Linked DNA regions of Homo sapiens: all the other regions are linked to region 2. The links are contacts of gene promoters, found by promoter capture Hi-C in blood cells and fetal thymus (Javierre and others, 2016). All regions are on one chromosome and are shown on one strand. The core of a region is centred on a gene start or on the middle of the fragment in contact, and the rest is flanking DNA. Distances in the headings are between cores, read along the strand shown.

Evidence for each region. Contacts are between HindIII fragments. The CHiCAGO score rates a contact against its expected background, and 5 or more counts as called.
Region 1: a fragment that was not itself captured here is called in contact with the fragment with the promoter of GAS1 in region 2 in 5 of 17 cell types (M0 macrophages, megakaryocytes, M1 macrophages and 2 more); the score reaches 9.9 in M0 macrophages.
Region 3: a fragment that was not itself captured here is called in contact with the fragment with the promoter of GAS1 in region 2 in 1 of 17 cell types (M2 macrophages); the score reaches 5.7 in M2 macrophages.
Region 4: a fragment that was not itself captured here is called in contact with the fragment with the promoter of GAS1 in region 2 in 2 of 17 cell types (M0 macrophages and M2 macrophages); the score reaches 7.5 in M0 macrophages.
Region 5: a contact is called between a fragment that was not itself captured here and the fragment with the promoter of GAS1 in region 2, in 1 of 17 cell types (M2 macrophages). The highest score is 5.9, in M2 macrophages.
Region 6: a contact is called between a fragment that was not itself captured here and the fragment with the promoter of GAS1 in region 2, in 1 of 17 cell types (M1 macrophages). The highest score is 5.1, in M1 macrophages.

The regions. Positions count from the first base shown.
Region 1 is chr9:86,484,200-86,487,893 of GRCh38, reverse strand. The region is part of intron 1 of LOC102724080 (a long non-coding RNA gene); the gene reads right to left. Among named protein-coding and RNA genes, the nearest start is that of TUT7, 130 kb to the right of the region's middle. The HindIII fragment of the contact is 2,035 bases long and covers 673-2,707 here.
Region 2 is chr9:86,945,988-86,949,730 of GRCh38, reverse strand. It overlaps GAS1 (growth arrest specific 1), which reads left to right and starts at 2,225. Exons shown (of 1, transcript NM_002048.3): 1 at 2,225-3,743. The coding sequence starts at 2,952. GAS1RR (GAS1 adjacent regulatory RNA) reads right to left here and starts at 1,033. Exons shown (of 7, transcript NR_049794.1): 1 at 738-1,033. RefSeq lists silencers at 3,015-3,094, 3,165-3,234. The HindIII fragment of the contact is 4,442 bases long and covers 1,357-3,743 here.
Region 3 is chr9:86,651,970-86,655,638 of GRCh38, reverse strand. No RefSeq gene overlaps it. Among named protein-coding and RNA genes, the nearest start is that of LINC02834, 55 kb to the left of the region's middle. The HindIII fragment of the contact is 4,916 bases long and covers 1-3,669 here.
Region 4 is chr9:86,628,127-86,631,894 of GRCh38, reverse strand. No RefSeq gene overlaps it. Among named protein-coding and RNA genes, the nearest start is that of LINC02834, 78 kb to the left of the region's middle. The HindIII fragment of the contact is 7,252 bases long and covers 1-3,768 here.
Region 5 is chr9:87,317,135-87,320,905 of GRCh38, reverse strand. No RefSeq gene overlaps it. Among named protein-coding and RNA genes, the nearest start is that of LINC02872, 170 kb to the right of the region's middle. The HindIII fragment of the contact is 3,042 bases long and covers 191-3,232 here.
Region 6 is chr9:86,609,810-86,613,932 of GRCh38, reverse strand. No RefSeq gene overlaps it. Among named protein-coding and RNA genes, the nearest start is that of LINC02834, 96 kb to the left of the region's middle. The HindIII fragment of the contact is 3,130 bases long and covers 509-3,638 here.

The DNA.
Region 1 (3,694 bases), core at 441-2,940, 460 kb after region 2:
CTGTCTCCAAATTATCAATGAATTTATCTTTAAAGGTAAACATCTAAGTAAACTAATATTATTGTCACTGGGCCATTCTATGGCCATTTGCTGTAAGGACACTGTTTCTGAATTTCTTTTTGTCCAACTTATCTTTCAGTTGATTGTATTTTCAGCCTTGACAGCTAACAGGATGGCTTGCTTATTATCTAATTTTAATAAAACCTCAAGATTGTAGTAGAGAAAAAGCAGGTTCTGGGGTCTCCAGTTCAAGGTCCCATTGTCATTTCCTTCCTGAGAGTTAAGGAAGGGGTTTGGAGAAGGAAATTCTCATGAATGATGCTCGATTGATCCTTAAATGTGTTTACTCTGGTTTCAGCAGCATCAGTTCTCCCAGCACAGAGACTAAATAATACTTTGCCATTTCATTCTTCTCCCAAGCAGATAGCCTTAGGAATGTATTTACTGCCACCTTGTGGAATGGAAATAAACTTAAAGGGCCTAGTCTAGTCAAATTTTGTTCCCAACTTCTCCTTTTTTGATCATTTTGCTTTCTCTGGGAAGGAACTTCTAGGCTGATCTTGTTACAGGAGCCTCTTGCACCTGGTGGGAGGTGAGGGGGAAGACTCAGTTTTCTTCATACACTGTCATTCTCTGTCAAAATGGAGCTATAGCATAGAAAAATCAAAAGCTTTCAGTCCTTGGAAAACTCCTAAACCTCACTGACAGTGCCAGGAATTGAACCATAATCCCAGATGATTATATTTACAAGAAAAGGCCTACCCATAATCTCTGCAAAAGATAATATTATTCACATATGTTTTGTATAGAAATCCACATACATTGGCTTAGCATGTTTGGATTTTTATCTTAGACTAGAAAATCAGCCTGACCTAACAGAAGTGTGTAAAACTGCCTGCCCTACAATATATCACATCATTTGCTTTTAATGCTGTGCATGGTCTGGTTTATTTTCCATTGCATTTTTCTGTTGCAAAGACATTTCTATAGCTGTGTATATGTCTAGAGATGGCTCTAAAAAAAGGACTGACTTAAAAACAAGACTGTACCCATGTTGGGATAAACATATCTGTTTTACCTCAGAGTGAATTATCTCATTATGAGAAAGTTTAAGTATGTTAAATATACACCAAAGTTTTTGTTGTTGTTGGTTTGAGACTGGGTCTCAATCCGTCATCCAGGCTGCAGTGCAGTGGCAGCATCACAGCTCACTGCAGCCTCAACCTCCTGGGCACAAGTGATCCTGCCATCTCAGCCTCCTGAGTAGCTGGGACTACAGGCACACACCACCACACCCAGCTAATTATTTTGTATTTTGTAGAGATATGGTTTCATCTTCTTGCCCAGACTAGTCTCGAAGTCCCGCACTCAAGCAATTCACCCATCTTGGCCTCCCAAAGTGCCGGGATTACAGGCATGAGCCACTACACCCGGCCTACACCTAAATGTTTTAAAGGTTTAATTATAAAAACTGCATCTTTTTAATTTTAAAAATGCACAACTTTTTCGCTTGGAAGAAGCTACTTTTGTACAGCTCTTCTTCATAATACCTGAGTAATAACACGTACTACTGCAGCTTTAGCCTGAACCATCACAATAGTTATAATACTGGACAGCAAGGACCTTAAAGCTAAACAGATAAAATATAGGAAGTAACTAAAACCATCTTGCAGCAAAACTTCTTCCTTCATGAAATCTTTTTTTTTTTCACCAAAAGAAGGAATTAACTCTAACTAGGGTTGTAATTTTTGCCACACGATTCTCTTTATATGCCAAAAGGTTCTGGGGCTGAAAGTTCAGGAGAGGAGGGACAGATGACTGAGGCTCTCTCGGGAATGCTTGGGAATCTGGAATACTGAAGCATGAATATTTGGGAGAGAAAAGGTCTGACACAAGGCAGGACCCAGAAAGGGAGCTGAGCCAAGTTCTCCAAGAGCCATGTAAGTCCCCAGGCTCAAGTTTTCAGAGTATTGTCAAAGCTAGAGAGACAGAAAGGGTCAGAAGCCCAGGAGTGAGAGAAGCAATGCGAGGAAAATAAAGACAAAGAGAAGAGTAGACTGAAAAATAAAATGCATTCTTGGTACTAAGTGATTGATCCTACTTGTTTTTTTGTTTTGTTTTGTTTTTTAATGTCTAAGTCCTTAAGAAGAGAAATAAAAGAGAATCCAACTGGAAGTAAAGAAGATCCATGAGATTTCTCTGAGGAGAGAAAGTAAAGTTAGTCACTAAATATTTACTCAGAATGTTGTGGTCCTTGGTGCTGTTCACCAAATATGTCATCTCTCCCGTGCTCTGAGGGAAATTGCACTTCCTGGTGCCCGTGCGGCTGAGTGGGGCCATGTGACTAGTTTTGGTTGATGAGTAGAGAGCAGAAATGACATGTGTCACTTCCAGGACAGGACATTTGATTGTTGCAAGACTTAGAGTTCTTTATTCCCTTTGGGGCAGTGGCCTGAAATTCATGGTGGCTCGGCCCACCTGGACCTGTGAGAGAATGCCACGAGCACAGTCTGTGCTGGACATGTGATGTAAGTAACAAACAAATCTTTATGGTTTAGGCCACTAACATTTTGGAGATGTTTGTCACTGCAGCATGACAAGGTCAATCCTGAGGTATACCTGCATTAAGGAGACAGTATGATCATCTCTTTGAAGTATATAAAGTATTAACATGGTCCTTATGCTTGAGAAATGAATGCCTAAAGCTTGTAGTGGACATGAAGAGAAGGTATTAGATAGTGCCAAGAAAATCTTACATTTAAAAGCTGTTTTCTGGCCAGGTGCAGTGGCTCTTGCCTGTAATCCCAGCACTTTGGGAGGCTGAGGCTGGCTGATCACTTGAGACCAGGAACTCGAGACCAGCCTGGCCAACATGGTGAAACCCCGTCTCTACTAAAAGATACAAAAAATTAGAGGGCCTGTGATCCCAGCTACTCGGGAGGCTGAGGCAGGAGAATCGCTTGAACTGGGATGCAGAGGTTGCAGTGAGCCAAGATTGCACTACTGCAGTCCAGCCTGGGTGACAGAGTGAAACTCCTTCTCAAAAACAGACAAATAAATAAATAAAATAAAAATAAAAGCAATTTTCTGTCTTCTCAAAGGAAGATTGAATTCGCCTTCCAGGCAAACATTTTGCTTTGCTTTAGGAACACCAAAATGTGTCCTTTGGTCACTAATGTAAATCGAGGATACTCACAAAGATTCTTATCGGAGTGTGTGGAAGACCCCACCGATAAAATTTGGCTCTTTTAGAACAGAAAATGCAGCCTGGACTTGGGAAAAATTGGTTCTTTTAGAACAGGAGGCAAAGCCTTGACTTGGAAATGTAAATTGTTACATAGACTTGAGTCGGAGTTGTGGCTCAGGGGCTTTCTTGCTTTCTTGACCGAGGGAAACATATTGCTCTGTCTTAGTCTTGCTCAGATATTCCCAAGGGGTAGGCAGCCATAAAAGACCCTAAGGAGAATCTGGGTCCCTGGGGTTGGAGCAGAACCACTACTAAGAGCTACACAAACCATTTCTCTGTTGTTTGTCTCTTCATTGACTCCTGGGTCTTAATAAGGACCTATCAAAAGTTGTGGCCTGGCTTTCATTTTTTGGGGATGAAGTATAGGGAACAGAAAACGCCCCACTTGAGATGCAATGGTAAGCAGGACTGCGGTGCCTGCGCCTCCAGCTCAGGGGATGGTGATAA
Region 2 (3,743 bases), core at 976-3,475:
AGACAGTATAGCCTATTGTGGTGAATGGAAATGACACAGTAAAAAGTGGGCTGAGAACCCCTCAGGCTTGCAATGCTAATGCTATGTGACTGGGATGCAGAAGTCCCCAAAGCATGCAGAGCTCTTGGGCCTCCCTTAAACCCCACTGAGAGCTGTATCAAGGCCAAGGTGGGGCAAGTGTTACCAAAAACACAGCAACAACACAGAAAAGAAACATGTTAACTTTGAGAGCAGTGATTCTCAAAGTTTGAGAGCAGCATTCCCTGAGAACTTGTTAGAAATGCATATTCTTGGGACCCACCAGTCCAACTAAATCAGAAACTCCAAAAACTAGGGATCTGAGTTTTAGGATACGTGCTAAGGTTTGGGTCCCACTATTCTAAAGGAACTCAACAAAAATTCAAGTAAAGATGAAACCGAGTGCTGACTTTGTTCCTTATGGGCCTAAAATAACAAAGCTTTAAAGACAAGAGGGGATTTTTCAATTGTCTAATTGGCTTCGAACCTTACCTGTGGAGGGATCCCAGACACAGAGAAGGTGTCTGAGTTGTCCAAGTCCTCCAGGCCGGACTGAGAGGACAACTCCAAATAATAGAGAAAAAAAAAGAGACAGAGAGCCAGGGATATGGTTGTTTTGATGTGCCATGAAGTTGCAGCCTTTCTGGATTTTTTTAGTATCGATTTATATTGCTGTTTGTCTACCAATACTCAAATCAGAGCAAGACGGTCCGCCTTACCTCAGTCTGGCTCTTTTAAGGTTTGATTTTGGTTTTGGGGACTGCAGAGGTGCAGCTTCCCACGGCAGACCAAGCGCCTCTGAGGAACGCAGCAGCTTCAGCAGGTACAGGAAGATTTCCCGCAGCCGGAGGAATCTCCTAGTGCTGGGCCTCCGGCTGTGACTTTTGCCATTTCAAATTCACTTGGCCTCTAGGGAGAGGCAGACAGCCCGACGCTGAGCGCGTCGGAGCCCCGGCTCCCTCTGCTTCTGGAGAGGAGATTTAGCCTTAATTTTTGTGACAGATGGAGTTGATAGTCTCTCCACGGAAAGGGGAGGAAAAAAGCGCCAGTTTTTGACAGGCCGCAGACGCCCGCTGCCTCTGGTGGCGGAAGGCTGCGTTGCGCCCCAGTTAAGGTAGCTCGGAAACTCCCTCGCCGAGAAGGCAGAGGTTTCCTCTGCAGAGCAGCCTCCCTTAAATATACTGAGGGGCTGAAACTTACACTTTAATATAAACCTTTGGTGCGTGCCCATTTATTCCGTCTTCTGTCCTGTGACTGCGGCCAGGTGGTAATTGCTCGACATTCCTGAATATTTTTAATGCTAGTTAAATTTTTTCATTATTGCACGTGTTGCAAGCTTATCTTCCTAAGAAATTATTTCGGTTGATTGGATTTCGGTCTTGCAATTTGAAAACGATGCCTGGCGCACGGGCGGTACCTGCCAGATGGCCTAGCTGGGGCTGGGGGGTGGCGGGCGGGTTGTAAGCATCTCATCAACATCTCCCTAATAAAGTGTGTGCTTCTTTCTTGTATGCTTCTTTAAAACAGTTTCAGTCTCACATTTTATCTCTGGATTCTCCCCTTCCCCTCTGTGGTGATCAAGACCCAAAGACAGGGAGCCTGGAAGATAAACTGAGTTCTGAATCCAGTCGAAAGCACAGATGGGGGCCAGCGAGAATTAATAAAACTACAAAAAAAAAAAAAAAGAAAAAAAAAACAAACAAAAAAGGCCCGTGGCTGAGCCGGATGCAAACAGCTGCCCCTAAGCCCTGCCCGCTGGTTCTGTGCGCGAGCTGGGGCTGCATATCCGAGCCTCCTTAAGAGTAGGAGGAGCTCCGGGCCTCCGTCAGGCTCCCTAAGCCGTTCCTTTCAAGCCCTGAATGCCTGAATGTGAGCTGCCCACCACCCTCCCGCCCTCCCCCACTCCGCAACCCCACTCCAGCGGCTCGTAAAAAAAAAAAAAAAAACTTTCAACAACAACAGGCAGGACCAATAGCATCTCGAAAAGCCGGGAAAGGGGGCCGAGCAAAGGGCGAAAGAGAGTGGAGAAAGGAGAAAGCGGGCAGGCTCGGAGCGCGCGGGGCCGGGGCTCGGCGAGCCGGAGGAGCGTTGCTAATGTTTTTGTTTGTTTGCTTTTCCATGCATGCATAATGAGGGGGCACCGCGGCACCACGCGGGGGCTCCCGGCCCACTTTTGTATTTAAAGCCTCGCTGCTAACGAGTCTGCAGCCGGGCTCAGCGGATCCGCTCCCCGGGCTCTTGGTCACCCGAGAAGCTGCCGCCGAGTGAAGCCAGGGAGCCGCTCTCCGGCAGCGCCGACTTTCTTGTTCTCCCCGCGCTTCCCGGAAAGAGCTCCCCGGAGCTCTGCGGAGGCCGGGGTTGCCGCGGGCGGAGGGGGAGGGGACGCGGGGCGGCCGGGCCGCGGGAAGGCGGGCAGCGCGCGGACGCCGGGCCAGGAAGCGGCGCGATGCGAGAGACCGCGGCGGCGGTGGCGGCGGCGAGGCACTGAGCCCAGGAGGAAGGAGCCGCCGCGGCCGCAGCGCGAGCAGCCGGCACGGGGACAGCCGGCCGCACAACGGATCTGCAGGCGCGGAGCAAAATGCACCCGCCGCGCCGCGCGGTCCTGCAGCCCCGCCACGGCCCCGCGGCCCGCACCCCCCCGGGGCGACAGTGAGCCTCTCCCGCCACCACCGGGGGCCGAGCGGAGGGCTCTCGGGTGGGAGAGCGGGACCAGATCTCGACAGCTGTTCATTTCCAGGAAGCCACCGCAGCCAGAGCGAAAGGGGACCTTCTGCCACCAGCGGGGCATCAGCCAGCGGCGCGCATGGATTTATGAAGACACTCATGCAAGAAGTGGGCAGGACTTGGACAAACTTTTCCACCGGCTCCGCGTCCGCCGCTCCCCGCGCCTCGTCTCCTTTCCCCTCCTCTCCCGGCGGCCGCCGCTGCCCGCGATGGTGGCCGCGCTGCTGGGCGGCGGCGGCGAGGCCCGCGGGGGGACAGTGCCGGGCGCCTGGCTGTGCCTGATGGCGCTGCTGCAGCTGCTGGGCTCGGCGCCGCGGGGATCGGGGCTGGCGCACGGCCGCCGCCTCATCTGCTGGCAGGCGCTGCTGCAGTGCCAGGGGGAGCCGGAGTGCAGCTACGCCTACAACCAGTACGCCGAGGCGTGCGCGCCGGTGCTGGCGCAGCACGGCGGGGGCGACGCGCCCGGGGCCGCCGCCGCCGCTTTCCCGGCCTCGGCCGCCTCTTTCTCGTCGCGCTGGCGCTGCCCGAGTCACTGCATCTCGGCCCTCATTCAGCTCAACCACACGCGCCGCGGGCCCGCCCTGGAGGACTGTGACTGCGCGCAGGACGAGAACTGCAAGTCCACCAAGCGCGCCATTGAGCCGTGCCTGCCCCGGACGAGCGGCGGCGGCGCGGGCGGCCCCGGCGCGGGCGGGGTCATGGGCTGCACCGAGGCCCGGCGGCGCTGCGACCGCGACAGCCGCTGCAACCTGGCGCTGAGCCGCTACCTGACCTACTGCGGCAAAGTCTTCAACGGGCTGCGCTGCACGGACGAATGCCGCACCGTCATTGAGGACATGCTGGCTATGCCCAAGGCGGCGCTGCTCAACGACTGCGTGTGCGACGGCCTCGAGCGGCCCATCTGCGAGTCGGTCAAGGAGAACATGGCCCGCCTGTGCTTCGGCGCCGAGCTGGGCAACGGCCCCGGCAGCAGCGGCTCGGACGGGGGCCTGGACGACTAC
Region 3 (3,669 bases), core at 22-2,521, 290 kb after region 2:
AAGGTATTCCTGAGTTGGCACACATCTGGGAGGGGTCTGAAAGAGGAAGACTATGGTTATCATGTCTGCTTGTCTAAGAAAAAGAAACTTTCGACTTAAAACTGCTATAGGAAATGATAAATAACAGAAAAGAAAATAATTATTCTTTTCAAACATCTGAGCTGGTGACTGATTCATAAAGTACAACCAATAGGCTATCCCATGCATTTTAATCCTCCAATACCCTTATGAGGTCAAAGGCCCTCTGTCATGTGTGATTTATTCTTTCACTGATTCATTCTAGCCACAGCCACTGAGTCCCTTGGGACCCAGGCATTCTCCTTGGTGCTGAAAAGAACAGGGAACAAAACAGATGAAGTCTCTGCCCTCATAGAGCTTTCAGCCTAATGGGGTAATAAAAAAATACACAAATAAACAAACAAGATCAATACAAACTGGGATAGGCATTGTTCACATCATATCATAACCTGGATGATGTGATCAAGAATTCTTGGCCCATAAACAGGATAAACAAGATTGGGAAGGCCTCTCCAAGGAGGTATTTTATGAGCTAAGACTTCAAGCATGGGAATAACCTAGCCATGCAAAGAGTTGGGAGACAAAACAGAAAAAAACAGGAACTGCAAAGACTTGAGAACATATTTGAGAAATAAAAAGGAAGGCAGTGTAGTCAGCCTCTGAAGAGTGAAGGTGAAGACTGGGGAGGAGAGATTGGAGGGAGAAGTGAGATCATTCAGAATCTTGCAGAGCAAGACAGAGAGCTTGAATTTTATTCTTAAAACAATGAGAAGCCATGGATTAATTTTAAGTAGGGGATTTGCCTAAGACTGGTACATGGATTAAATAAATTAATATATGTAATACACTTAGAACAGTGGCTGGCAGACCAAGCACTGTAAAAACATTCTTATTTTTATCCTCATTTGTATTGTTAAAGATGATAGAGAAGCACCAGGTAGACCTGTTGAGAGGCTATTTTCATAGTCCTTTTTGGAGCTGAACCAGGGTAATGGCTGTGAAATTGAAGAGAAATTGATGTACGTAACAAAACTGTAACTCAGGCATAATAAATAGGACTTTCTGATGATCAAGAAAAAAAAAGGAATGGAGGTCTCCTTCTGGGTTTCTGTCATGTCATCTGTCAGATCCATTAATTAATCTAAAGAGGACTGCAGAAGAAACCAATTCAGGAGGAAAAAAATCAAAATTCAATTTCATTCTGTTGAGTTTGAGATGCCTATCAGATATCTAAGTGGGAACATCAAACATGTTACTATCCCTGTTGCACCATGGAGAAACTGAAGCTCCTTTACAGTGAGGAAGCTGAGATTTAGAGAGACCATGTAATCTGCTCAAAGTTGAACCGTGGTTGAGAGGTAGAGTCAAGCCTGGAATCTAGGCTAAGAACCCCTTTAAAACCAGAGATCTCATTCTCTCATAGTTAAACACCTGTAGGTGGAGCCCCAGGTTCCTTGCTGATGTAACTGGAAAACAGAATCAATGACAGCAGAACCATCAATACTGATATGGTTTGGCTCTGTGTCCCCACCCAAATCTCATCTCAAATTGGGAGGGACAGACCTCCAGGGAGGGAACTGGTGAGAAGTGATTGATCATGGGGTTGGTTTCCTCCATGCTGTTCTCATGATAGTGAGGGAGTTCTCATGAGATCTGATGGTTTAAAAGTGGCAGTTTCCCCGAGCTCTCTCTCTCCTGCTGTCTTGTGAAGAAGGGACCTGCTTCCCCTTCTCCTTCCACCATGATTGTAAGTTTCCTGAGGCCTCCTCAGCCATGCAGAACTGTGAGCTAATTAACCCTCTTTTGCTTATAAATTACCCAGTTTCAGGTAGTATCTTTATAGCAGTGTGAAAACGGACTAATACAAATACAATCATCTACAAGTCACCTGCACACTGCTGGAATTTCAGAAACCCCAGGGCAGTGCATGAGCCAGCAACGGAGGCCATAAAATGTCATCTGACTCTTGGTGGGCAGATAATTCACCTAGGCAAGAAGGAAAGGCCAAGCAAGAATTGTGTTCAGTTAAAGGGGGTGACATTAGCTTACTAGGCCTTGGTTTCCTATCTGTAAAATAGGTATGGAAACCTAACTAATACACACAGTGTTGGGTCCGATATAAAGGACTATTGAAAAAAAGAAAGAAAGAGTTGGAGCATGTGCTTCATACGCCTTCCAAGGGCTACATGTTCTTTAACCCTTACCATCAAAATAAAGTTTAAACCAGGAGGGTGGGGGAGACAGACATGAGGAGTTAATGTTTAATGGGTATAGAGTTTCAGCAAGGATAATTACAGACTGCTGGAGATGGATAGTGGTGATGGTTGCACAACAATGAGAGTATACTAATGTCACAAAACTGTACACTTAAAAATGATTAAAATGGTAAATTTTATGTTATGTATATTTTACCACAATAAAAGAAAATTTGCTTGTATTATTGAATCAAAGTTGGCTTAATATACTTTTATTGTGTTTACATCATATAGAGCTAGGCAGTGAGTCAGACTCAGTTGTTGTGCCTTCACACATGAGGGAGGACTGGTTCTTACTTGGACAGGAAAGGTGCTGGAATCAAGAAATAAGCTATAAATAAAACCATGGAGGTTGTTTTTTAACTTGAATTAGGGGCTAGATTTCAAATTGCATCTTATTTTATCTGAACAGGATCATTTTGGGCAAGCAAGCATCTGTCTGGGTTAGTTTATGATTCCCCTGAGGGCCAAGTTATGCCTTTGCCTGTCTTTTCAGTATTTTCTCAGTGCCTCACATATGAAAGTGCTGTTACATTGCCGGGAAAATTGACTAGAGAAATCTAATGATGGTATAAGTCACTGTTAGAGAAAGAAAGAGAGACAAAACTCGAGAGAGAAAAAACTAGAGCACCCACCATCCAAAACTCTCATGGAACTGAGGTAGGAGGCGGGACTTGACTCCAGAGGCAGGGTTCAGACACCGGACCAGATTGAGGACTAGCTAAAACAGGGCTGGGGCAGAAGCAGCTTTCCAATCAGACGTGCCCACCAGTGTGCCATGGCAATTTATCATTGCCATGGCAACACCCGGGAGTTACCACCCCTTTCCATGGCAATGGTCCAATGACCCCAAAATTACTACCCCTTCCCTAGAAATTTCTTAATAAACTATCCCTCAATCTGCATGCAATTAAAAGTGGGTATAGATACGACTGCAAGACTGTCCTGAGCTGCTACTTTCTGCCTACTGGGTAGCCCTGCTCTGCAGGAGCAGTCACGGAGCTGTAACACCATCAGTGCAGTAACACTGCCACTTCAATAAAGCTGTTTTCTTCTACCTCTGGCTTGCCTTTGAATTATTTCCTGGGCAAAGCCAAGAACCCTCATGGGCTAAGTCCCACTTTGAGCCCCACTTGTCCTGCATTAAAACCATCATAAGTCAGGGACCCCCCATTCTGTACTACAAACAACTCTACACACATAAAATTGACACTTAGAGGACATGAACCAATTTCTCACAACTCACCCAACATTGGAATCAATCATTGGAAAATCTGAATAGCCCTACAACTACTAATGAAATTGACTTTGTAATTTAAAAATTCCCAAAAAAGAGATCTCCAGGTCCAGGTGGTTTCATTGGAGAATGTTTAAAGAAGAACTAGCATTAATTCTA
Region 4 (3,768 bases), core at 849-3,348, 320 kb after region 2:
TTACTTGTGTTTACTGGATTTCATGCAAATTAGGGGTGAGGAGAGACTAAATGTTTTCTTTTGATCCTTCCTATGTTTGCCTCTAGGCATAATATTTTGGACACTTTTCTGAGTTTGCTTCAATTTTCACCCACTCCTTTCCCCATAGATTTTGTCTCCTTGCCTTTTGTTTTGTTTGGTTTTGTTTTTGATGGGGTTTCACTCTGTCTCCCAGCCTGGAGTATAGGGGTGCCATATGCCTCACAGCCTCGACCTCCTGGGCTTAAGGGATTCTCCCACCTCAGCCTCCTGAGTAGCTGGAACCACAGGCATGCACCACCACACCTGGCTATATTTTTAAATTTTTTGTAGAGATGGGGTCTCCCTATGTTGCCCAGGTTGGTCTCCAACTCCTGGGCTCAAGCGATCCTCCTGCCTCAGCTTCCCAAAGTGCTGGGATTCCAGGCATAAGCAAGGGCACCAGGCTCTTTCCTTGATTTTTATAACTACTTTCCTATAAATAAGAAACAGCTCCACGGCAGTTCATTTGCCTAGTCAATTCTTCCTCTCAGGCTTCTTGATATTTGGGTTGGCAAAGAATAAAAATATAAAGCTCCCAAACCTGTAAGGGATTCTAAAAGTCTAAAATTCCCTGAAACAACAGAGGCACAATAGTTTCCCACTTGATAATGTGACCTTCGTCGCCTTCTACAGCCCTGGAATAGAGGAATGAGGCAGCAGGTCTATGTTGTGGCACCAGAAGGAAGGATGGATAAGATCTGCTGCATTTCCCAGTTACAGGCAGCTGATGGGGAGCAGAGCTGGTCAGCTGGTCATATTCAGTAGCTCTTCGTGTTTCATGAAAATGTGTAGAACCCTTAAACACTACTCTAAAAATAGGCCTATCCCTTGACTTCATCATGGTAAAGACCATAAATGAATCTTAGTCTACCAACTCAGATAAAGAGGAAACAGCACATGTCCACTTCTTTTAAATCCACTTAAATTAGCCTAAAGAGAGAATTCAGTCTTAGCCATTATCAGGCACCCTTCCCTCCTTAAGGGCACAATTGTTCATAAAACTCATGCAATGTCTAGACAATGGAAAGGGAAGTTCTTCCAGCCATTCATTGCTACATAACAAAATATCCCAAAAGTGCAGTGGCATAAAACAGAAAAGACTCATATTATTATTATTATCATTATTATTATTTTGGGAGACAGGGTCCCATTGTTTCACCCAGGCTGGGGATCAGTGGTGCAATCATAGCTCACTGCAACTTCAAATAAAAGACTCATATAGGCCGGGCACAATGGCTCACGCCTGTAATCCCAGCGCTTTGGGAGGCTGAGGCAGGTGGATCACCTGAGGTCAGGAGTTTGAGACCAACCTGGCCAACATACTGAAACCTCATCTCTACTAAAAATACAAAACTTAGCCAGGCCTGGTGGTGGGCGCCTGTAATTCTAGCTACTTAGGAGGCTGAGGCACGAGAATCTCTTGAACCCAGGAGGCGGAGGTTGCAGTGAGCCAAGATCGCATTACTGCACTCCAGCCTGGACAACAGAGTGAGACTTTGTGTCAAAAAAAAAAAAAAAAGACTCATATGAGTCCATTTGTATGGAATTTCTAGAAAAGAAGGAACTGCAGAGTCAGAAAGCAGATCTGAAGTTGTCTGGGATTGGGATTAGGAGAGGAAACTAATGACAAAAAGCACAATGAAATTTTTGGGTTGATGGACATGTCTTAAAATACCTTGATAAAGCTCATTTAAAAAAAAATTAGTGGCATAAGACAACAACCATTTCAGTACAATCATGAATGCTGTGGTTAGGAATTCAGTTGGGGAACCCTGTGCATGCTTGTCTCTGTTCCACAATGTCTGGGGACTCAGATGGGAAGAAGAAGAGCGAGAGGCTGGAATCATCTGGAAGCTGTTCAGGATGGCTGCAAAACTGAGCCTGGCCAATGCTGTCGACTGGAGTGCTTACACACGGCCTGTCCACCGAGCTTGGGTTTCTTACAGCATAGCAGCCAGCTGGGTCCTGGAATGGAGCACCCCTGGAAGGAGTGCCCAGAGAACTTACTTGCCAAAGACCAAAACTGACATAGTTAGGCTCTGTGTCCCTACCCAAATCTCATCTTGAATTATAATCCCCATATTCCCCATAATCCCCATGTGTCAAGGGAAAGACCACGTGGAGGTAATTGAATCATGGGGGCTTTTTCCCCCATACTGTTCTCTTGATAGTGAGTGAGTTCTCATGAGATCTGATGGATTTATAAGAGGCTCTTCCCCCTTCACCAGGCACTTCTTCCTGCTGCCTTGTGAAGAAGGTGCCTTGCTTCCCCTTTGCATGATTGTAAGTTTCCTGAGGCCTCCCTAGCCATGCTGAACTGTAAGTCAATTAAATCTATTTTCTTTATAAATTACCGAGTCTCGGGCAGTTCTTTATAGCAGTATGAAAATGGACTAATACAAAAGCAGAAGCTGCACGACTTCAGGTTACAAGCCAATCTCTAGGCCAGCCCAGATGCAAGGGGAGAGAAACTAGACCTCACCCCTCTATAGAGTGTGGCAGGGCCACATCAAAGAAGGGCATGTAGGATGGAAGATATTGTGGAGTCCACCTCTGGCAAACAGAATCTGCTACCAGACCCTATTCTTCTCACTGTCACAAGCCCCAAGGTCTCCCTGTGGGTGAACAGGCTTTTCTTTTTCAAGGGGTAACAGAGACCATTTACAAAGAGAAATCCTCATGCTAAAGTCCTGCCTTCCCAACAGCACCAGAAAGCCTTTTGCCTCCTGAGGTCTTGCTGAGACATTTCACTTTATAGGCACAAGTCCCATCACTTGAGAAACTGCTGGCCTCTGACCACACCTCTGATTTAGAAACTGCACCTTGCTGCTGCTGTCACTGTTCAGCTCTCCAATGCACTCGTCCCCCTTCCCATTCCCTCAAGGACACCTCAGGAAATGTCTTCAATGGGCTTTACATTTCATAAAATACAAAAAGAGGAGGCTCTCAAACAGCAGCATTGATTATGGGTTCTGTAAAATCTCTAAAGCTGGGGAAAGAGAGATAGAGAGATTGGGTGAGATGGAGAGAGAACCTGTCATTTTTTTTCCAACTGGGGAAGGCAAGTGACAGAACAGATCACACATCAATTTTCCAGTAAATCATTCTAGCTCAATTGCCGAGTGTACACGTGTGCACAAGCGTGCATGCACGAGATTTATAAAAGGCTCTGCAGTAACTTGCATGCATTTTTCAAATAAAAGTACTGCTTAGAAGCAGAATGTAATAAATAAGGAGGAGGGGAGGAGCTGGTTTCACCTAGAGAAGAAATATTTAATTTTTTGTAATTTTTTGGATAGTTAATGCCATATTTCATACTTGTGGGAGATAACACTCTAAATTTTTTTAATCCACAAATACTTTCAACATAACCCATCAATGACAGTTTAGAGATCATTTTTAAACAAACTCACTATCATATATATATATATATATATATATATATATATATATATATATATATATTTATTTATTTATTTTTTGAGACAGAGTCTTGCTCTGTCACCTAGGCTGGAGTGGAGTGCAATGATGTGATCTTGGCTCACGGCAACTTCTGCCTCCCAGGTTCAAGTGCTTCTCCTGCCTCAGCCTCCCAAGTAGCTGGGATTACAGGTGCCCACCACCATGCCCAGCTAATTTTTTGTATTTTTAGTAGACACGGGGTTGGTCACCATGTTGGTCAGTCTGGTCTCGAACTCCTGACCTTGT
Region 5 (3,771 bases), core at 462-2,961, 370 kb before region 2:
CTTTTCCAAGAAAAGTGATTAACATGGATATCTTTAAAATCATAACAACTTGGGTTCCCCTCCTATCACACTGGGAACTTGAGGAAGATGTGTGATGTGTTTACAGCAGGGGTCCCCAGCCCCCAGTCCATGGACTGTTAGGAACTGGGCCAGGCAGTGGGAGGCACATGGTGGGCAAGCAAGTGAAGCTTCATCTGTATGTACAGTCACTCCCCATCACTCATATTACCACTTGAGCTTTACCTCCTGTCAGATCAGCAGTGGCATTAGATTCTTATGGGATCATGAACCCTATTGTGAACTGCACACGTGAGGGATCTAGGTTGCATGCTCCTTATAAGAATCTAATGCCTGATGATCTGTCACTGTCTCCCATCACCCCCAGATGGGACCATCTAGTTGCAGGAAAACAAGCTCAGGGCTCCCACTGGTTCTACATTATGGTGAGTTGTATAATTATTTCATTATATATTACAATATATAATAATAGACATAAAGTGCACAATACATGCAATGTGCTTGAATCATCCCCAAACCATCCCTCCACCCTTGTCCATGGAAAAATTGTCTTCCACAAAACCAGTTCCTGGTGCCAAAAAGGTTGGGGACCTCCAAGTTACAGGATACAACTGTTTTTATTATCATAGCAGACACTTACTACTGTTTTTCATCCTGCTTTATATATTTTTATTAATTTAATCCTCACGACAGTGCTATAGGGTGGATACTCCCCACTTTATAGATGAAGACACTGAGCTACTAAACGCCAGGCTGGCTCTGGGGTCAACTCTCTTAACCACTCTACCAGCCTGTCTCTCAAAATGAAAAGCAATTCATTTGTTTTATTCCCCTTTGTTTTTATACTAGAAAAATGAAATGCAATATCTCCTTCCAAACCTTCTGGAAAATTTGGATATTAAATCTTCTCAACTCAAGGAAAGGGAAACTAGTTTCACTTTGGGGAAGATTTTTGGGTCTAATGGGCTATCAACTCCAGTGTGAGAGTACTGGAAGAAAAATGAGTGTGAGGTGCAAATGCCTTTGGAAGTAAGAAAGGATCTTCAAGACAAAATGAGGTCAGTGAATGGGGGAAGCCAAGGAGGGAAACTGCAGAGGGGATGCATAGGACCTGGGACTTATCCAAAAGAAGTTGCTTGAGGAATAAGAGAGTTCTTATTCTGGGAAGATAATATGGTTTTGATCTGTGTCCCCACCAAATCTCATGTTGAATTGTAATCCCCATTGTTGAAGGTGGGGCCTGGTGGGAGCTGTTTGGGTCATGGGGGCAGATCCCTCATGGTTTGGTATTATCCATCCTCGAGATAGTGAGTAAGTTCTCTCAAATCTCGTTGTTTAAAAAAGTGTGACACCTCTTCCCTCCTGCTCTTGCTCCAGCTTTCACCATGTGAAGTGCCTGCTCCCATTTCACCTTCCGCCATGACTAAAACTCCCTGAGGCCTCCCCAGAAGCTGAGCAGATGCCGGCATCATGCCTGTATAGCCTACAGTACTATGAGCCAATTAAACCTCTTTTCTTTATAAATTACCCAGGTTTAGGTATTTCTTTCTAGCAATGTAAGAACAGCCTAACACAGAAGACTTGGGTGGGTGTTTGGATGTAGCCAAAGACAGGTATGAATGACAAAGTAGCTTGTCACTTCTGTGACTCTCAATGAGCCATGCCTCCTGGCATTCACACCCTTGTGCTGTCTCTTCCTCTTGATCTGATCCAGGTCTGTTAGAATGCTGGTAGAGGGGACCCAGTGCCAGGTGTGGACTTCAGCTTTAAGAAGGTTTGGCCATTTCTGATTGTGTATCTTGGAAGGATCGAACTTTGTGGAGAGAGAGAAGCCCATAGATTGCGTGGAGACTGAAGAACCCAGCCAACTGTGAGAATTGAGGCTACAGACTTCTGACTCCCATAAAGTGTCTCTGTCAGCCTTCAGCTACTTGAGCCGATCTAATTGAGGGACCAGATGTATGAGTGAAGAAGTCATCTTGGACATTCTAGCCTCGGCAGACATTGCATGGGACACAGACAAGCCACCCTCTGTGTGCTGTCTGAAATCCTGGTCGCAGAATCATGAGCAATGATAAAATGGTTGTTGGGAGAGACCAGCCACTAAGTTTTGGGTAGTTTGTTTCACAGCAATTGATAGCTAAACAAACAAACAAACAAACAAAATTCAGAAAAACCATGCATCATTTGCATGCCCAGGAGCTTCAGAGAAAGGGAGGCTTCATCTGCGCAGACCTAGCCCCTTCTCTTGATTCCAGCTCGGTGGATCTTAGTGAGATCTTCATTAGCATCCTTCATCTTACCTGTTGGTCACCTAGCTGTAGTGATGCCATAGACATTGCCTACATTCTCCCTGGTCACCCCATATAGACAACCCTCTCCTGCTCTTCTTGGGATATTCATAAGTGCAAACAAGTGGAGGGGGTGAAGACTTGTACGTCTGGTGGGAAAGTGTGGTAGTTCATTTTATGTTTTAACTTGGCTGGGCCACTGTACTTGGATATTTGGTCAAACATTATTCTGGATGTTTCTGTGAAGGTGTTTTTTGGATGACATTAATGCTTAAATTGGTGGATTTTGGGTAAAGCAGATTTCCCTTTATAATGTGGGTGGGTCTCATCTAGTCAATTGAAGACCTTAACAGAGCAAAGACTGACCACCCCCATTCCATCTTGTTGAGCAATAACGGATTCTGCCAGCAGACTGCCTTCAGACTCAAACTGCAACTTCCCTGCATCTCTAGCCTAGCGGCCACCACCATCAAATTTTTAACTCACCAAGCCTCCATAGTTGTGCAAGCCTATTTCTTAAAATGAATCTTTCTCTTTCTCTGTATGCATATCCTGTTGGTTCTGCCTCTCTGGAGAACGCTGACCAATAAGGATGGTGAGACTCCTTGCATATATTCTTTGTGTTGGTCAATAGAATATGCTCGAGACTGTCTAAGCTGGCACAGTAGTGAACGACTCTCTGTTACATGTATTAGAACAATTATTGGATTGAGAATTTGGAGCTCTGGGTCAGCCTCTGGCTCTGTTCCTCTCAATCTTAGGAAAACCAATCAACCTTCCTGGGCCTCAGTTTCATTAAGGCTATAGCTCTCAAAACTTTGTGTAATTTAAATATGGTTATTAGGATGAAATAACAATGGGGCCATTGTTACTGCAATAATGAGTGCTTAATCATGGCCCAGGTGGGGACCATATAATAAGCTTTTTAAAAATTTTTAATAAAGAGTTTTAAAAAGTGGGTATATTTTGCACTTTCTACTTTCTGCAGCTTAAGTTGTATGAGCTGAGTAGAAGTAGATTCTGGGGGTTACCATACTTAACCAATTACCCAAGGACATTAACTGGCACACCTGTTCACATTTACCCTTTTATGGCTTGAACTCAGAGCCAATAAAATTACAGTTTACCCAGTTCATTTTCATAATGCATCGATTGCTTTTAATAATACATTTTCTTCCAAGTGTCTGAGTGGACTGGGGATAATGGTCACTTCAGTGTCAGAGTCCACAACTTAAAGGAAAAGCCAATCCGATTCTCTTTTACTTAAGAGGCCTGACCCCTAGGAGATGGTGGCCTTTGTGCCTGGCCTGTTTGCTTTCTGGTTTTAGTGCAGGTTTGCTAGAGTGCTTACTGCTCTGTGTAAGCACGGTAGCCCCTCGGCCCTAGCAGAGCATTGAGGAGAAATGTGGTGGTTCTGTGCACTCCCAGAGCAGTGTCTCAGGTCATTAAGTGGTCACTGAGG
Region 6 (4,123 bases), core at 824-3,323, 340 kb after region 2:
AATATTAGTAAAACATATTTGCTTTAGGAATGTATAGCTTGTAATTTTTCTGATTGGTACAGAGTCATTGCTACAACAGAATTTTTTTATATATAGTTATTAATATAAATTGCTTCAAATATCTTTGGGAAGCAGTTTGAGTATAAATTGTAAATATATGATATTAGTAAAACATATTTGCTCTAGGAATGCTTAGCCTGTAATTTTTCTTTTTGATAACACAATTGACAGAACAAATTTGATTCAGGACCTCATGGTGTATGCACACACACATACACACACACACAAACACACACGCTGTATTTACCTTGAAAACAAAACTACAGCAATATTCTAATCCTAAATGTGAGTTTTTTGTATTTGGAATTCTGTGATTTGAATTGCTGCAAAATCTATGTCTACTGGACCACTGCCACTTCTTACATTTTACTGTGTTTGAATAATTTGGGTCTCAAAGGAGAATCATGGTTTAAAAAGCCAAATAAAGAGAATAATGTGTTAATAAGCTTATCTTTATTGGAGGGGTAGCCCTTTAAACTAAACATGAGCTCAGACATCAGACCGTGCTGGCAAAAGGTCACAGATCCTGATGTCTATTTTAAAAACTACTTTCCATACCTACCTACCTGGCAACAAAAATGTCAAAACAGTTCACAGACAATTAAAAACTTTTTTTGTTCTGGAAGTGTTTGATTCAAATTTCATTTCAGGGATAATGTACTATCTGGCTCTGGAGGCCTTGCCCAGGGAAACAGTGGTGAATGTGATGAGCCCAGGTTCTCCTTAGAGAAATGAGCCACCAAGAGGGTGGCCTTGGCAGGTAAATAGGTAATTATCATGCTGTGTGGAATCTCACCTTCTTGTGCTGGAAGCAAGAGAAAAGATACGTGAGCTCAGGTAGGATACCTAACTTCAAGCCACAATACACATTTCCAATATTAGCTACGGTTTGCAGAGAACTCACATTTCATGCTGTATCTGCCAGTCACAGAAACCTAGGTGAGAACAAAAACAAACCTATTAGCCACTTTTAAATGGCTGAGTTCATATTTTCAGTGAAAACACTTGGGATTGGCAATGACCACTAAATCACCTATTGCTCTGCTTCCCCCACAACTCTCAAAACATTTTTACACCCTTGGTGCTCATACCTTTGTTTACATTGTTTTCATTATGACTACTGATCGAGTAAGAAATATTTATTGAGCACCAACTCTTTGTGGTAGAAATTATAGCATATCCAGAAGTAAAGCCATAGCAAACTTAGCTTTTGCAAGACTTAAGATACTAAATACTATACTTTAAAAAAAAAGTGTAGGATGATACAAACAGAAGCACTCAGGTCTACAATTCAGACTTACCCAGCATGCACTGGCATGGGGGTAAGGTTTGAAATGACCCATGAAAGCTAGAGAATAAATGGACGTGTAAGGGATGGAAAGTGTTGCTGCGTGAGAAAGGCAGGGCAAAGGAGCTGGTAGGTAGACATAGAAGAGCAAATAGCAAAGATCTGAAGTTGGGAATGAGCTTGTCATCTTTGTACAAAATCAGGAAATCAGGCTAGAGTTGGGGCCTATACACAGGTGGGGTCAGATGAGAACCCACGCTCCCCCCAACATACCTCTCTCTTTGATGTGTCTGTGCTTGCACACATGCTGCTCAACTGTCTCCACTGTCTCCACCACCACACTGCACACAACTCAACTAATTGATGTCCTCAAATAATAGAAACCCATTTTCTAGGCTGGACGTGGTGGCTCATGCCTGTAATCTCAGCACTTCTGGAGGCCGAGGTGGGCGGATCACGAGGTCAAGAGATCAAGACCACCCTGGCTAACACGGTGAAACACTGTCTCTACTAAAAATACAAAAAACTAGAGCCAAGATGGCCGAATAGGAACAGCTCCGGTCTACAGCTCCCAGCGTGAGCGACGCAGAAGACGGTGATTTCTGCATTTCCATCCGAGGTACCGGGTTCATCTCACTAGGGAGTGCCAGACAGTGGGCGCAGGTCAGTGGGCGCGCACACCGTGCGCGAGCGGAAGCAGGGCAAGGCATTGCCTCACTCGGGAAGCGCAAGGGGTCAGGGAGTTCCCTTTCCGAGTCAAAGAAAGGGGTGACGGACGGCACCTGGAAAATTGGGTCACTCCCACCCGAATACTGCACTTTTCCGACGGGCTTAAAAAACGGCGCACAACGAGATTATATCCCGCACGTGGCTCAGAGGGTCCTACGCCCATGGAGTCTCGCTGATTGCTAGCACAGCAGTCTGAGATCAAACTGCAAGGCGGCAGCGAGGCTGGGGGAGGGGCACCCGCCATTGCCCAGGCTTGCTTAGGTAAACAAAGCAGCCGGGAAGCTCGAACTGGGTGGAGCCCACCACAGCTCAAGGAGGCCTGCCTGCCTCTGTAGGCTCCACCTCTGGGGGCAGGGCACAGACAAACAAAAAGACAGCAGTAACCTTTGCAGACTTAAATGTTCCTGTCTGACAGCTTTGAAGAGAGCATTGGTCCTCCCAGCACGCAGCTGGAGATCTGAGAATGGGCAGACTGCCTCCTCAAGAGGGTCCCTGACCCCTAACCCCCGAGGAGCCTAACTGGGAGGCACCCCCCAGCAGGGGCACACTAACACCTCACACGGCAGGGTATTCCATCAGACCTGCAGCTGAGGGTCCTGTCTGTTAGAATGAAAACTAACAAACAGAAAGGACATCCACACCAAAAACTCATCTGTACATCACCATCATCAAAGACCAAAAGTAGATAAAACCACAAAGATGGGGAAAAAACAGAACAGAAAAACTGGAAACTCTAAAAAGCAGAGCACCTCTCCTCCTCCAAAGGAACGCAGTTCCTCACTAGCAATGGAACAAACCTGGATGGAGAATGACTTTGACGAGCTGAGAGAAGAAGGCTTCAGACGATCAAATTACTCTGAGCTATGGGAGGACATTCAAACCAAAGGCAAAGAAGTTGAAAACTTTGAAAAAAATTTAGAAGAATGTATAACTAGAATAACCAATACAGAGAAGTGCTTAAAGGAGCTGATGGAGCTGAAAACCAAGGCTCAAGAACTACGTGAAGAATGCAGAAGCCTCAGGAGCCGATACGATCAACTGGAAGAAAGGGTATCAGCGATGGAAGATGAAATGAAAGAAATGAAGCGAGAAGGGAAGTTTAGAAAAAAAAGAATAAAAAGAAATGAGCAAAGCCTCCAAGAAATATGGGACTACGTGAAAAGACCAAATCTACGTCTGATTGGTGTACCTGAAAGTGATGGGGAGAATGGAACCAAGTTGGAAAACACTCTGCAGGTTATTATCCAGGAGAACTTCCCCAATCTAGCAAGGCAGGCCAACGTTCAGATTCAGGAAATACAGAGAACGCCACAAAGATACTCCTCAAGAAGAGCAACTCCAAGACACATAATTGTCAGATTCACCAAAGTTGAAATGAAGGAAAAAATGTTAAGGGCAGCCAGAGAGAAAGGTCAGGTTACCCACAAAGGGAAGCCCATCAGACTAACAGCGGATCTCTCACCAGAAACCCTACAAGCCAGAAGAGAGTGGGGGCCAATATTCAACATTCTTAAAGAAAAGAATTTTCAACCCAGAATTTCGTATCCAGCCAAACTAAGCTTCATAAGCAAAGGAGAAATAAAGTACTTTACAGACAAGCAAATGCTGAGAGATTTTGTCACCACCAGGCCTTCCCTAAAAGAGCTCCTGAAGGAAGCGCTAAACATGGAAAGGAACAACCGGTACCAGCTGCTGCAAAATCATGCCAAAATGTAAAGACCATCAAGACTAGGAAGAAACTGCATCAACTAACGAGCAAAATAACCAGCTAGCATCATAATGACAGAATCAAATTCACACATAACAATATTAACTTTAAATGTAAATGGACTAAATGCTCCAATTAAAAGACACAGACTGGCAAATTGGATAAAGAGTCAAGACCCATCAGTGTGCTGTATTCAGGAAACCCATCTCACGTACAGAGACACACATAGGCTCAAAATAAAAGGATGGAGGAAGATCTACCAAGCAAATGGAAAACAAAAAAAGGCAGGGGTTGCAATCCTAGTCTCTGATGAAACAGACTTTAAACCAACAAAGATC